Regions from separate parts of the Homo sapiens genome. Here regions 1 and 2 are each linked to region 3. The links are contacts of gene promoters, found by promoter capture Hi-C in blood cells and fetal thymus (Javierre and others, 2016). All regions are on one chromosome and are shown on one strand. Each heading gives the region's core, a stretch centred on a gene start or on the middle of the fragment in contact. The rest is flanking DNA. Distances are from core to core; before and after follow the strand shown. Region 1 overlaps RBFA (ribosome binding factor A). Region 2 has its middle 14 kb from the start of RBFA. Region 3 holds the start of ATP9B (ATPase phospholipid transporting 9B (putative)).

Region 1 (3,960 bases), core at 1,461-3,960, 980 kb after region 3:
GGTCGGGGGCGTGGAAGTTTGGCCTGTGCATGTACACACACATACACATCTTTTCCAAACATGTAGTGCCTGACAGAGCCTGCAGGTCTTGGGGTGTTTGTGGGGGGCCCCATTCCAAGCCCACAGCTGCTAGAGCAGGCCTTGCCTGGGGGCCTTAGACAGCAGCGTCAACATCGCCTGGCACCTGCCAGAGTCGGGTTTAACCAGCCTGCCAGGTGCATCCCTGAGCTGGAAGCAAAGCTCCACGCTGTAGCAGGCCTGGCCTGACCGTGTCAGCAAGGGGCAGTGTGGGGGCGGCAGGGCAGGGAGCTGAGCCCAGGGTGTGGAAACTTTCCAAAGTGGAGCCTTGGAGGATACAGGGGCTGTGACGTGGCCTTGACTAGGTGCTGTTCACCAAGAATAGACTCTTCATGAAGGCGAATGAGTGGCAGGTCTGATAGGCCTCACCTGCGATTCTGCCAGTTGAACTGGCCCGAGGCACTGGCCATGCTTAGAGAAAAAAGTTGCAAACGCTTTTTTTTTTTTTTTTGAGGCAGAGTCTCACTCTGTCGCCCAGGTTAGAGTGCAGCGGCGTGATCTTGGCTCACTGCAATGTCTGCCTCTTGGGTTCAGGCGATCCTCCTGCCTCAGCCTCCTGCGTAGCTGGGATTACAGGCGAGCGCCACCACGCCCAGCTAATTTTTGTATTTTTAGTAGAGACAGGGTTTCACCATGTTGGCCAGGCTGGTCTTGCACTCCTGACCTCGTGATCCGCCCGCCTCAGCCTCGCACAGTGCTGGGATTACAGATGTGAGCCACCGTGCCCGGCGCAAATGCATTTATTGCATACAGGACGGTGCACCTGGACTGTGCTGGCCGAATGCTTCTGACACTGGAGAAGGCGGAAACCAAAGCCCACCTTCCTTCACTCCTGTCTCCAGTTACCCTCAGATAGACGTTTGGGAGGGTTCTCAGGCGAGTAGATGTAGGAAGTGTGATGTGCTGTTGTGTTGTGGCGACGACACTGTGGACTAGGGGCATGGTTTGTGCTTGGTGTGAAGCCTCTTCTTCCTTCCCAGGGACCCTGATGCCCCACAACCCTGCGGCACCACAGAGCCGACCACAAGCTCCAGTCTGTGTGGGATCGATCATGAGGCGCTCAACAAGCAGATTATGGAGTACAAAAGGAGGAAAGATAAAGGGCTCGGGGGCCTGGTGTGGCAGGGGCAGGTGGCTGAGCTGACAACGCAGATGAAAAAGGGAAGGAAGAGGGCCAAGCCCCGCCTGGAGCAGGACAGCTCCCTCAAGAGTTACCTGTCAGGCGAGGAGGTTGAAGATGACCTGGACCTGGTTGGTGCCCCGGAGTACGAATGCTATGCCCCGGACACAGAGGAGTTGGAGGCAGAGAGAGGAGGTGGCAGAACAGAGGATGGCCACAGCTGCGGAGCAAGCAGGGAGTAGATGGAGAGGCTCTGCCCATCCCACATTTGCAGGGAAAAGCATTGGCACGCAACGCAGCATGTGGCTTCATTGAGGCAGTTGATGGAGTTAAACCATCTGCTCTTCTGCTACTTCAACATTTTCTAGCTTTTCCGTGTATCTAAACACAATTTGCTACACAAGTCACTGTTTTTTTTTCCATGCACTGTGTGTAATTTAAAAATTAAATGGCCATCTTATCACAGATTCTCACAAAAAGAAAATGGTAAAATAGTGTCTCTGAGATGCTGGCATGGCCACCTCCACCTGCAGAGCCCTGCCAGGTGCCAGTGAGTGCTTGGCCCGAGGGGTCAGGCCACAGCAGTGGCCGGGGTAAGAACTGAACCTGCAAACCTGGGGAGAACAGAGGGTCCCCAGAGCCTCCCAACCCCCTGGAGCTGGGCTCCGTCCCTGGGGCTGCTGGGCTGGCACGTGGCGCCGGGGGCTCCATCCCTGGGGCTGCTGGGTCGGCACGTGGCGCCGGGGGCTCCGTCCCTGACTGGCCTCTTCACAGCTTTGTGCAGCAGGCTCCACCTTCTGGTTCAGGCCAAGGTTGGGCAGAAAGTGAGTTGGGTTTGCTGGGGCTTCCTGGGCGACCCCGGCTCTGACCGTGGTTCCATCACGCCTGAAGTAGTAACACTTTTCCCTTGGTGCCCGTGGCCAGCTAGTGTATTTTCTAATCCATCCAAAGGTGAAACAGACTTGGTCTTTGCCTTCTGAAGAGTGTGCGACTCTGAGTCATACTGAATTCTTTGTGTCACCTCCGACGCAAAGATTCGTTTTGCTGTTTATCAGAAGAGAAAACACAGATTCCATACCTTGTCAGCTCCTATTTAGTTCGGCTTCCCTCTTAATGTCCCAGCCCCTGTGAGCTGTCAGGTTCTAAATTCAGAATTCTCTCAATTCTGTCAGGTTCTGCACTACGAGTCAGTGTCATCCCTCCAAGCCCTGGCTCTCTGCCAGTGCAGCAGGGCTGTGAGAATCAAGACGGCACAGGGAAGGCATCTGTCCCAGCATTTGCACATGACAGGTGCCCACGGTGCAGGAGTAGAATCTGTGGAAGCAGCAGTGGCTTTAGTTGCTGTGCCCTGCCACCTCCTCCCCAAAAAGGAGAAGTGTCCAAGGGATAGCAGACCCGTAGCACTGAGCGGCCTGCCGTGCTGACCACTGGATCCAGGCCACGTGCTGCAGACAGCGGCTGTGGGCGAGTGATGAGGCCACTACCCAGAAAGCTGCATGTGCACTGTGTGGGGTAAGGACAGTAGGAGATGCTGCTGCAAGATGCTGACTCCCTTGTTTTTCTTTTCATTTGTGCTCTGGGACTAAGCTGTGTATAAGTCATCAAATGGCAGAAGCAAGATTTTTCTTTTGAGATCTAGGAAATTATTTGTTTATACTCTACACTCTTATTTCCTATATCAGGATGGGGAGGCCACTACCTCAGGCCAGTTAAACTAAGAAGAAAGAATTTAAGGCAATTTGTAAGGATAGACAAAACCCCACATGATGGTATGAGTAGGAGAGAGAAAAAAAAAAGGGAGCCAGAAATTAGGTTACAAAGTGTACACCACACATAAAGGCTGATGCCTCTGTTACACCGTGAGCCAAATGTTTATCTCTAGGGTTTCTGGTAGCCAGTTGCGGGGTGTCCAGTGAAGGGGTGTACATGTCTGTGGTTAATCATATAGGTCAGGATAATGAGGTGATACTGCAGTGACAAATGGCAAATCTCCCTGGCTTACAACAACCAGTTTGCCTCTTATTCTTCTAGGGGACCATCATGGGCTGAGGTCAGGCCAAGGCCTTTTGTATCTGGTGTTACTGGAACATGGCTATGTGAATTCATTTATGTACAAGAGACCTCCCCATCCTGATGTAGGAAATGAATGGTGATGATTTACGAGCGCAACATCCTAAAAAACGTTTTTGTATTTCCCTAGCAAGATAACTTCAGGTTACAAGGCTCTGGTACTTGACCATGATGACTCCATGAGAAAACAGCAGAACGCCAGCTTTGCAGGTACCTCCACAGCACTGCCGGGCTGGGAACAGGGCCAGTGCTTGCACCAGCGCTGGAGGGGGCCACAGCAGAGTAAAGACAGAGTCTGCCATGCAGGAGTGCTTCGCAGGTCAGGCACTGCTCTGAGTGCTTTGTGTTAACCTGCCCCCCGCCCCCTAACTTGGGAAAGGTGTTAAAGAAGGAGAGAACGCCCTCAATGGTGTGTCCTTTGCATACACACCTTTGCATGCATCTGATGTGCCCAGGCTGTGTTTTATTGTTCTAGCAATTTATTGTTACAAAACAGATTGCTGCCATCAATTTGTCTCAGGTCCTTCTAGCACATCTGACAGGGACTAGTGTCTAGAGCCATGAGGACAGAGACCAGAAGGGACAAGAAGGAGTGGGCAGAGGGAATGGAAGGTAGAGTTAGGCCCAGAGAGCCCCAGGCTGCTGCCCAGACCTCCACGCCTGTGCCGGATGTGGTGTTGGCATCCATAGCA
Region 2 (4,934 bases), core at 1,279-3,778, 950 kb after region 3:
ATTCCCTCTTTTTCTATTGATTGGAATAGTTTCAGAAGGAATGGTACCAGTTCCTCCTTGTACCTCTGGTAGAATTCGGCTGTGAATCCATCTGGTCCTGGACTCTTTTTGGTTGGTAAGCTATTGATTATTGCCACAATTTCAGATCCTGTTATTGGTCTATTCAGAGATTCAACTTCTTCCTGGTTTAGTCTTGGGAGAGTGTATGTGTCAAGGAATTTATCCATTATAACAAACTGTCTCTCAGACCACAGTGCAATCAAACTAGAACTCAGGATTAAGAAACTCACTCAAAACTGCTCAACTATGTGGAAACTGAACAGCCTGCTCCTGAATGACTACTGGGTACATAACGAAATGAAGGCAGAAATACACATGTTCTTTGAAACCAACGAGAACAAAGACACAACATACCAGAATCTCTGGGACACATTCAAAGCAGTGTGTAGAGGGAAATTTATAGCACTAAATGCCCACAAGAGAAAGCACGAAAGATCCAAAATTGACACGCTAACATCGCAATTAAAAGAACTAGAAAAGCAAGAGCAAACACATTCAAAAGCTAGCAGAAGGCAAGAAATAACTAAAATCAGAGCAGAACTGAAGGAAATAGAGACCAAAAAAACCCTTCAAAAAATTAATGAATCCAGGAGCTGGTTTTTTGAAAGGATCAACAAAATTGATAGACTGCTAGCAAGACTAATAAAGAAAAAAAGAGAGAAGAATCAAAAAGACGCAATAAAAATGATAAAGGGGATATCATCACCGATCCCACAGAAATACAAACTACCATCAGAGAATACTACAAACACCTCTACGCAAATAAACTAGAAAATCTAGAAGAAATGGATAAATTCCTTGAAACAAAATGCTTTTAACAGCACCCGTCACTTTTTGAATGCTTTGCTTAGAAATTTCTTCTGCCAGATACCCTAAATCATCTCTCTCGAGTTAAAAGTTCCACAGTTCTCTAGGGCAGGGGCAAAATGCCACCAGTATCTTTGCTAAAACAAAACAAGAGTCACCTTTGCTCCAGTTCCCAACAAATTCCTCATCTTCATCTGAAATTACCTCAGCTAGAATTTTATTGTCCATATCGCTATCAAAATGTTGGACAAAGCCATTCAACAAGCCTCTAGGAAGTTCCAAACTTTCCTACACTTTCCTGTCTTCTCTTGAGCCCTTCAAACTTTTCCAATCTCTGCCTGTTACCTAGTTCCAAAGTCACTTCTGCATTTTCGGATATCTTCTCAGCAACACCCGACTCTACTGGTACCAATGTACTGCATTAGTTTGTTTTCATGCTGCTGATAAAGACATACCTGAAACTAGGAACAAGAAAAGGTTTAATTGGACTTATTTCCAAATGGCTGGGGAGGTCTCAAAATCATGGTGGGAGGTGAAAGGCACTTCTTACATGGTGGCAGCAAGAGAAAATGAGGAAGAAGCAAAAGCAAAAACCCCTGATAAACCCATCAGGTCTCAAGAGAATTTATCATGAGAACAGCACAGGAAAGACTGGTTCCCATGATTCAAGTACCTCCCCCTGGGTCCCTCCCACAACACATGGGAATTCTGGGAGATAAAATTCAAGTTGAGATTTTGGTGGGGACACAGCCAAACCATATCAAGGACCATGTGTTATTTATTACCTGATAATAAGGTTGGCAAGGGGTGGCATTTCTGCCCAGGGATAGCTATTCCCATTGGGAATTCCACCTAGGAGGTCTGGCTAGATTAAAATTTTTCTATAGTCTCTCCCAGTTTGGTGTCACCCTTGTTCCTTCTTAGTCTCCAGATCTCTGTACTCTTAGCAATTATGAGCATACTTTTGGAATATTTAAAGGTTTCCCAAGTATGGTTCTTTTCCTCTGCTTTTAAAGCAGAAGAAGGCATTTGCTATCTTATTAACTTTACCTAGTCTAAAGGAGTAAGTCTTACCCTCAGGGTGTGTGTTTTTTTGCGTAGCGTTAAAAATGCTCCCATACCATGCTTTATTTATATCCATTTTTAATGGTTAAAGGTAAAGCCAGCAGAGGGAACCCCAAGATAGTGATATGGTTTGGCTGTGTCCCCACCCAAATCTCATCTTGAATTGTAACTCCCACAATTCCCTTGTGTTGTGGGAGGAACCCGGTGAAAGGTGATTGAATTGTGGGGGCGGGTCTTTCCTGCACTGTTCTCATGATAGTGAATGAGTCTCAGGAAATCTGATGGCTTTAAAAACGGGAGTTTGCCAGCACAGGCTCTCTCTTTGCCCACCACCATCCACGTAAGATGTGACTTCCTCCTCCTATTTCCTTGAGGTTTTTTTGGCTGCATAGATTTGCACCACCATTTGTTTACACTCCTGTTCAGGTTCTCCAGTTTCCTCTGGGAGGAAAGTGGCTGGGTTCAGGCCAGGACAGGTCTTTAACTGAACTGCAGGTTTTTCCAGCAGCAAAGCTTGATATTTGAGGAGGTGATTACCTGTTAGCCACAGACTTCCTTTAGAGGATAGCAGTGCTGCTACATTATGGGGTGTGTAAACAGTTAACTTATTCCTCATGGCTAACTCAACCATGCAACTGCAACTGCTCAGAGGCAAGCTGGCCATTTTTTAGCCACCAAGTTAAGCTTTTTGCTTAGGTAACCAAATGGCTGCTGGGGTGGACCTTGAGCCTAAGTTAAAACTCCCAAGGCTATTCCCTTTCTTTTTGAGACATAAAGATTAAACGCCTTCCCTATGGGAAGACTGAGCGTAGGTGCTTTAAGTCAGGCTTTAGCTGATTAAAGGCCTTCTGAGCCTCAGGTTTTTAAGTTAGGGAGTGAGTTTATAGCTGATTGAGTTTATTTTATAAGGCAGTATAAAGGGCAAGCCATTTTACTGTACCCAGGTATTTACAATTTACAAAAACCTGTAATGCCCAAAAATCCTCTTAGCTGTTTGAGTGTTCCAGGGAGGAGAAATGGGGAAATAGTCTTAATTATCTTCTCACCTAATGTTTTGGTTCTTTCTGACAAGACTAGACCAAGGTACCTCACTGAAGTTTGACAGAGCTGAGCATTAGATTTGGAAACTTTATATCCTCTACCTGCTAGAAAATAAAGAGCGTTAGTGCCTTCTTGAGAAACCCCCTCAGTTGGGGCACAGAGGATAATATTATATACATATTGTAAAACTTTAACCTGAGGATGAGAAAACTCAGAGAGATTTTTTGATAATGCTTGCCCAAACAGGTGGGCACTGTTTTGGACTCCCTGAGGCAGCACTGTACAGGTTAACTAGTTAGCCTGGTTGGAGGGATCTTTTTTTTTTTTGAGATGGAGTCTTGCTCTGTTGCCCAGGCTGGACTACAGTGCCATGATCTCAGCTCACTGCAAGCTCCACCTCCCAGGTTCATGCCATTCTCCTGCCTCAGCCTCCCGAGTAGCTGGGACTATGGGCACCCGCCACCATGCCTGGCTAATTTTTTGTATTTTTTAGTGGAGACGGGGTTTCACTGTGTTAGCCAGGATGGTCTTGATCTCCTGACCTCGTGATCTGCCCCCCTCGGCCTCCCAAAGTGCTGGGATTACAGGCATGAGCCACTGCCCCTGGCTGGTTGGAGGGACTTTCTTAAAGCAAACAAGTATTGGGAGTTAGGGTGCAATGGTATGCAGAAAAAGGCACTTGTTAGGTTTAAAACTGAATCATTTAGTTCCCTCAGGTATTTGAGTTAGCAAAGTATACGGATTAGGAACCACTGGATGGATTGGAACTATAGCTTTATTAACAAGATGGAGGTTCTGAACTAGCCTGCATTTCCCACTGGGTTTCTGTACCCCTAATATTGGGGTGTTGCAATGCTTGAGAAGGTTTTGTGCTTTTAATTTATTCATAATGGCTTTTAGGTTTTTGTTCTGTTTTTCAGCTTTTGGCTTTAGCGGGTACTGCTTTTGGTTACGGAAGAAGGTGGAATTTTTAAGGTGAATTTGGACCAGTATAACAGTTGTAGCCTGGCCAATTTTCCCGTGACTTGTCCACACCTCTGGGTTAACATTGGTTTTTAATAAGGGGAGGACAAAGAGTTTGTTCTGGAGCCATAAGGATGGTGGCTCCCATATGGGCTAGAATACCTTTTTTTTTTGCAATAGGGTTTGGCTTAGAAGTAGCATAGCATCTTTTAAGTTAGATTAAACACTTGGATTAAATTTTGGAAAGCCTCTATATATTTATTAGGGTTATTAGAGAACCTGCCCAGGTCCCCCTTTATTTGTTTAAGGTCCTGCAATGAGCAGGAAACTTGAGCCCTAGTAGCACCATTGGGCATTTCCTGCAGGGGCAACAGTGAAGTTGGGAATTTCTTGAGGGGCACTACCAGAGGAGCTAATGATCTGGCTATTGTGGGGCAGGTAGGACACCCGGAAGTTTTTTTCGAGGGTTCCCCAAGGGTTTTTTTCTTGACTCTGGGGAACCATCCTTTGCAGGCTTGCCTGACGTGGCTGCCAAAAGGGTGGGGTTAACTGTACAATGCTTACAAAGATTTAGGTTATCTTGCAAGGCAAAGAAAACCTGTACACTGGGAACCTTGGACTATTTGCCCTTTTGCCTACAGAAAAGTTTTAGTTGTTGAATAGTATAGAAATCAAGACTTTCCTCAGGCCAGGTTTGTTTGTTCCCAAGATGGTAATAAGGCCACGCCCTTGTGTAATAGAATATACGCCACTTTCTCTTTAGAGTCGTAGGGTTAAAGGAGTTCCAGTGATTTAGAATGCACTCAAGGGAAGTACAGAATGCAGATGGTTTGTTACCCATCTAGAGAGTGGGAGACAAGGTGTTCCTTAGTCCCCTTCCTTGCTTTGGCGTGACCAAGGGTGGAAGGAAAGAGAGAAAAGGTGTTGCCCTTTTGCCCTTCTCCTCTTTCCTTCTCTTCTCTGGGTCCTGGCAACCATTATAGGTGCCACCCCATGGA
Region 3 (4,559 bases), core at 481-2,980:
GTGTTGACTGAGGGTCAGATGGTGTTGTCACTGTCAGTAGTTGAGTGAGGGTGAGAAGATGCTGTTGTCACTGTCAGTAGTTGAGTGAGGGTGAGGAGACGGCGTTATCACTGTCAGGTACTGAGTGAGGGTGAGGAGATGGTGTTACAGTGCCAGTGCTGTGAGAATGAGATGGTGTTATCAATATCAGTTGTTGAATGTGGGTGAGAGATGGTGTGAACAGTGTCAGCGGCTGAGAGTGAGGTAGAGAAATAATGGGTGAGGCCATTGTCAATTAGGAGGCCATTGGCGTCTTTTGAAAGTAGTTAGTGTCTGTGGAGTGGCATGTATTCAGGTTACATGAAAAGCAGCTGAGAAGCAAACTGGCAATCAGAGTGGCAGCAACAAATTAAGAATATTCATATTCATAAAGACCATTTTTTATAATGAAAAAGTAATACATGCAGATGGGGGAAGATCACCTGAACCTTGAGAGGTGGAAGATGTAGTGAGCCGTGATCAAAACATTACACTCCAGCCTGGGTAACAGAGACCCCATCTCCAAAAAACAGAAAAGAAAAGCATTTATAAGTTCATGTTGAACAGTGTTTCAAACACATAGACAAAATTTATATGTCATGAAAATGGAATATCAGAAAAACATTGTTTAAAAAAACACAAAGTGAGTAAACCATTAATACGTGAGGTGAGCGGTGCATCAGCTTGCCGGCTTCCAGCTGCAGCGGGTGATGGAGGTGGAAGGGAGCTGTCCTCGGGACAGGAAATGAAACAAACCCAACCAAAGCCGTGTATTCGTTTATTCAATATCGTTTTGCTTTCTTGTGTAGACTGAGGGTGTAAACCTCGTTTCTGACAGTCGCCTATAGGACTTTTCAGCAGGCTGTGGGCCTAGAGGTGGGGGATGTGGAATCAAGCTAAAGACCCAGAACCAGAGAAAGAAGGAAGCAGCAGTGAGGAAGCAGGACAAGAACATCTCGGAAATTCAGCCCGGCGCGGTGGGCGCGCCTGCAGTCGCGGCGCTTTGGGGGCCCGGGCCACGTAGCACGACCCTGCCTGTGAACGCACAGACACCAGCGGTTCCAAGGGCGCGGGCAGGAAGCGGGCACCGAAGGCAGGCTGGAGAAGCGCGGGGCGGAAGCAAGAAGCCGCGCGGCGAGGAGGGCGCGTGGGGCCCCACACAGCCATGGGGCGCGCGTACTACTGGCAGCGCAGGCTCTGGACCGCTAAGGAGGCCGCGCGCGCCCACGCGTGTCCCCGGCAGAGCTTCCAGGAGACGGCTGCGAGGCCCTTCCACCCGCGGACCAGAGCGCGCCGGGTCGAACCACGACCCACGTGCAGGCCCTCGCGCGCTACCGGAAGGCCAGCCTGTGGCGCACGCGCGCCCCGCCCCGCCGATCGGTGACGTCATCGGGCCCGTCACGAGGCGGGGGCGGGGCCTCGGAACGCGACGCCCCCCGTCCCAGCTTTAGCCACTCGTGACGTCATTGCCCGGACTCCACTGCCTCCTGCGCCGCGCTTTTGCCACCCTGGGCACGTCATCGTGCGCCGACGCCAAACGAGGGCGGGGCCTAGGGACGCCACACCTTCCGCGCCGCCGCTCGTTACGTCATCGGACCTCGCCGCTTGGCGGAGGCGGGGAAGGCCCGCAGGCGGCGCCTCAGCCGGGGTTGGCGCTGAGGGGAGAGGGCGGGGAAAAGGTGGCGAATTGAGGGGAAAGTGGGAGGGGCGGGAAAGGGGCGGTCGGAACATGGCGGACCAGATCCCGCTTTACCCGGTGCGTAGCGCAGCGGCGGCCGCAGCCAACCGCAAACGCGCGGCCTACTACAGCGCCGCGGGGCCCAGGCCGGGAGCCGACCGGCACAGCAGGTAACCGAGGCGGCACTGGCCCCGTTCCCCGCCGACGCTCCCCGGGGCCCCCAGCCCACCGCAGGAACCCGGAGCCGGGCGGGTCTGGGGTCGCTACCGGCGCGCCCCATCTGTTCGCTGGGAGCCGGGAGTCCTTGGCGTTCTGAGCGCGCCGCAGCTGTGGCGTCCGCCGGTGGTGAGGGCCGCGGGCAGCTGCCGGGGCGAGCGGCTGCATCCCCGGGACGCCTGGGCCGAGCGTAGGAGCCAGAACGGGAGCAGAGAACCGCGGTCCAGTGTTGAGGGGTGGCTGCTCTCCTAAAGTAAACGGGGATCAAAAGTGCTAACTTCTCGGATACTTCAGAGTCTCCGAAACTTGTTCTTGTAGCCCTGTGAATTGTGAAGGTGACGGATGTAACTTTTAATTGCTTTGTTAAAAACACACTTCTTATTGAAATGACTTCTCTTCGACATTTCGATATCTTTGCTAGGCACACTTTTTGTTTAAACATATATATACAAAGTGCTTTTTGTCGACAAGTAATTTTGCTTTTACGAAAGGGAAATGGGGTATTGAGAACGGTTAACTTGTTTAGTGGGGTCACAGGTTAGCAGTAGAATTAGTGTACAGACCTTTCATACTCGAGATTGCATTTAGCTCATATTTAACATTTCTCATTCAAAGAAAAGAAAATTTTAAAAAGTGTTGCTTCTTATAGTTTTTGAAGTTTTATTCCAGAGGAATTGTCGAAAACATAATTTCACTCAATATGTAGTTGCTTCAGAATTTGAGTTTTTGAATAATTTTTGTTTTCGGCCATTTGAGAGACTAACATATAGCTCAAAGTACATACTGGAATGTTATAACGCTGATTTGAGTGTTTACCCACTAGCGATTTACTCTCGGGTAACTTATTTAAACTCAAGCCATGGTTTCCTCATCTGTAAAATGCTGGATAATATTTTTTCTTACGGGATTATTGGAGATTACAGTAGAACATGTGTAAGGTGCCCTTTTTTCAGTGCTTGGTTGGAAGTGGGTTCTGGTGTTACCTATAACAGTAATTGTGTTAGTAAATCTGTTTAATTTTAGGAGTTCTTTAGTTGGAAATGTGCCACCTGTTTCAAAATAGGTTTCCATCACAGATTGAATCCATTTTTGCCTCATGTACTTTGAAGCACTGTCATGTGGTGCACGCACATTCAAGATTTTTTGTCATCTCGGTGGATTGTTCCTTTCATTGTTAATGTTCCTCTGTCTCTGGTAATTTTCTTTGCTCTAAAATCTTTATTAGATATTGATGTCGCCATTTATGCTTTTTTTTGGATTAATGTTTGCATGGTATTAGCTTTCAACTTACCTATGTTGAATTTGAAGTGAGTTTCTTGTTGGATCTTATATTTTTTATCAACTATGCCATTCTCTTTTGATTGGCATATTTACACCATTTACATTTACGATAATTACTGATATGTTAGAATATAAGTGTGCCATTTATTATCTGTGTTCTGTTTCTTCTGATTCTCATTCTGATTCCTGTTTCTTTTTTTTTTTTTTTTTGCCACTTTTTGGGTTACTTGGACACTTTTTTGGTATCCCTATAGTGTGTTTGAGATTAGGTGTTGGTATAGTTTTTACAGTGCTTGCTCTGGGTATTACAATATACAAATGTGACTTATCACCATGGTGTATTGCTGTATTTCACCACTTCCAGTCAAGTGTGGAAACCCTTCTTTCACTTAGGTCCTCACTTTAAGTATCATGTCCTGGGTATCAGATGGTGTTACAGTTTTTGTGTCAGTCATCAAATATGGTTTATAAAACTCATGATGATAAAGATAGTGTATTGCATATACCACATACGCATATTTCCCCTTTTTCTATTGTTCTTCCTTTTTTTTTTTTTTGAGACAGGGTCTCACTCTGTTCTCCTGGCTGGAGTTAGTGATGCGATCGTAGCTCATTACAGCTTTGATCTGTTGGGCCCAGGCAATCCACCCATGTAGCTGGGACTATAGGCACATACCACCATGCCTGGCTAATTAAAAAAAATTTTTTTTGAAGAGACAGCATCTTGCTATATTGCCCAACTGGTCTCAAGTGATCCTCCTGTGTCATCCTCCCAGAGTGTTAGGATTAAGGCGTGAGCCATGGCTGCTAGCCTGCCATTCTTTTCTTAGCACTTGAAAAATCTTGTGCTGCTTCCTTCTTGTGTCCATGGTTTCTGATTAGGATGCTGCTGTCACTCAGATTGATGTTCCCCTGTAGATAATGTGTCATTTCTCTCTGGCTGCTTTCAAGTTTTTACTTTGTCTTTAGTTTTCAGAAGTTTAATTATGATGTGTCTTATCATGGATTTCTTTGGATTTCATGTTTGGTTTTGTTTTTTTTTTTTTTTTTGGTTTTCGAATAAATTTAGGGAGTTTTTAGCCATTATTTCTTCAACTACTCTTTGTTGTTGTTGAAATAATGGAGAGTTGCTCCCACTCTCTTCTCTCCATTTGGATTTCCAGTGTTAAGAAAGTTGGATCTTATGTTGGTGTTTCATAATTTCCTTAGGCTCTTTCCCTGTTTCTTTTCTCTGTGTTGTTCAGATTGTGTAAATTCTATTAATCTCTTCTCAAGTTCCCTAATTCTTTTTTTTTTTAATTTTTTTCAGTATTTATTGATCATTCTTGGGTGTTTCTCGGAGAGGGGGATTTGGCAGGGTCATAGG

What was found. Contacts are between HindIII fragments. The CHiCAGO score rates a contact against its expected background, and 5 or more counts as called.
Region 1: a contact is called between a fragment that was not itself captured here and the fragment with the promoter of ATP9B in region 3, in 1 of 17 cell types (neutrophils). The highest score is 5.6, in neutrophils.
Region 2: a fragment that was not itself captured here is called in contact with the fragment with the promoter of ATP9B in region 3 in 1 of 17 cell types (total B cells); the score reaches 5.2 in total B cells.

The regions. Positions count from the first base shown.
Region 1 is chr18:80,044,716-80,048,675 of GRCh38, forward strand. It overlaps RBFA (ribosome binding factor A), which reads left to right. Exons shown (of 7, transcript NM_024805.3): 7 at 1,059-3,960. The coding sequence ends at 1,440. Among named protein-coding and RNA genes, the nearest start is that of RBFA, 12 kb to the left of the region's middle. RefSeq lists an enhancer at 3,823-3,960. The HindIII fragment of the contact is 8,122 bases long and covers 1-3,960 here.
Region 2 is chr18:80,017,895-80,022,828 of GRCh38, forward strand. It overlaps a transcript of TXNL4A not described here. Among named protein-coding and RNA genes, the nearest start is that of RBFA, 14 kb to the right of the region's middle. The HindIII fragment of the contact is 171 bases long and covers 2,444-2,614 here.
Region 3 is chr18:79,067,664-79,072,222 of GRCh38, forward strand. ATP9B (ATPase phospholipid transporting 9B (putative)) reads left to right here and starts at 1,731. Exons shown (of 30, transcript NM_198531.5): 1 at 1,731-1,866. The coding sequence starts at 1,748. The HindIII fragment of the contact is 22,095 bases long and covers 1-4,559 here.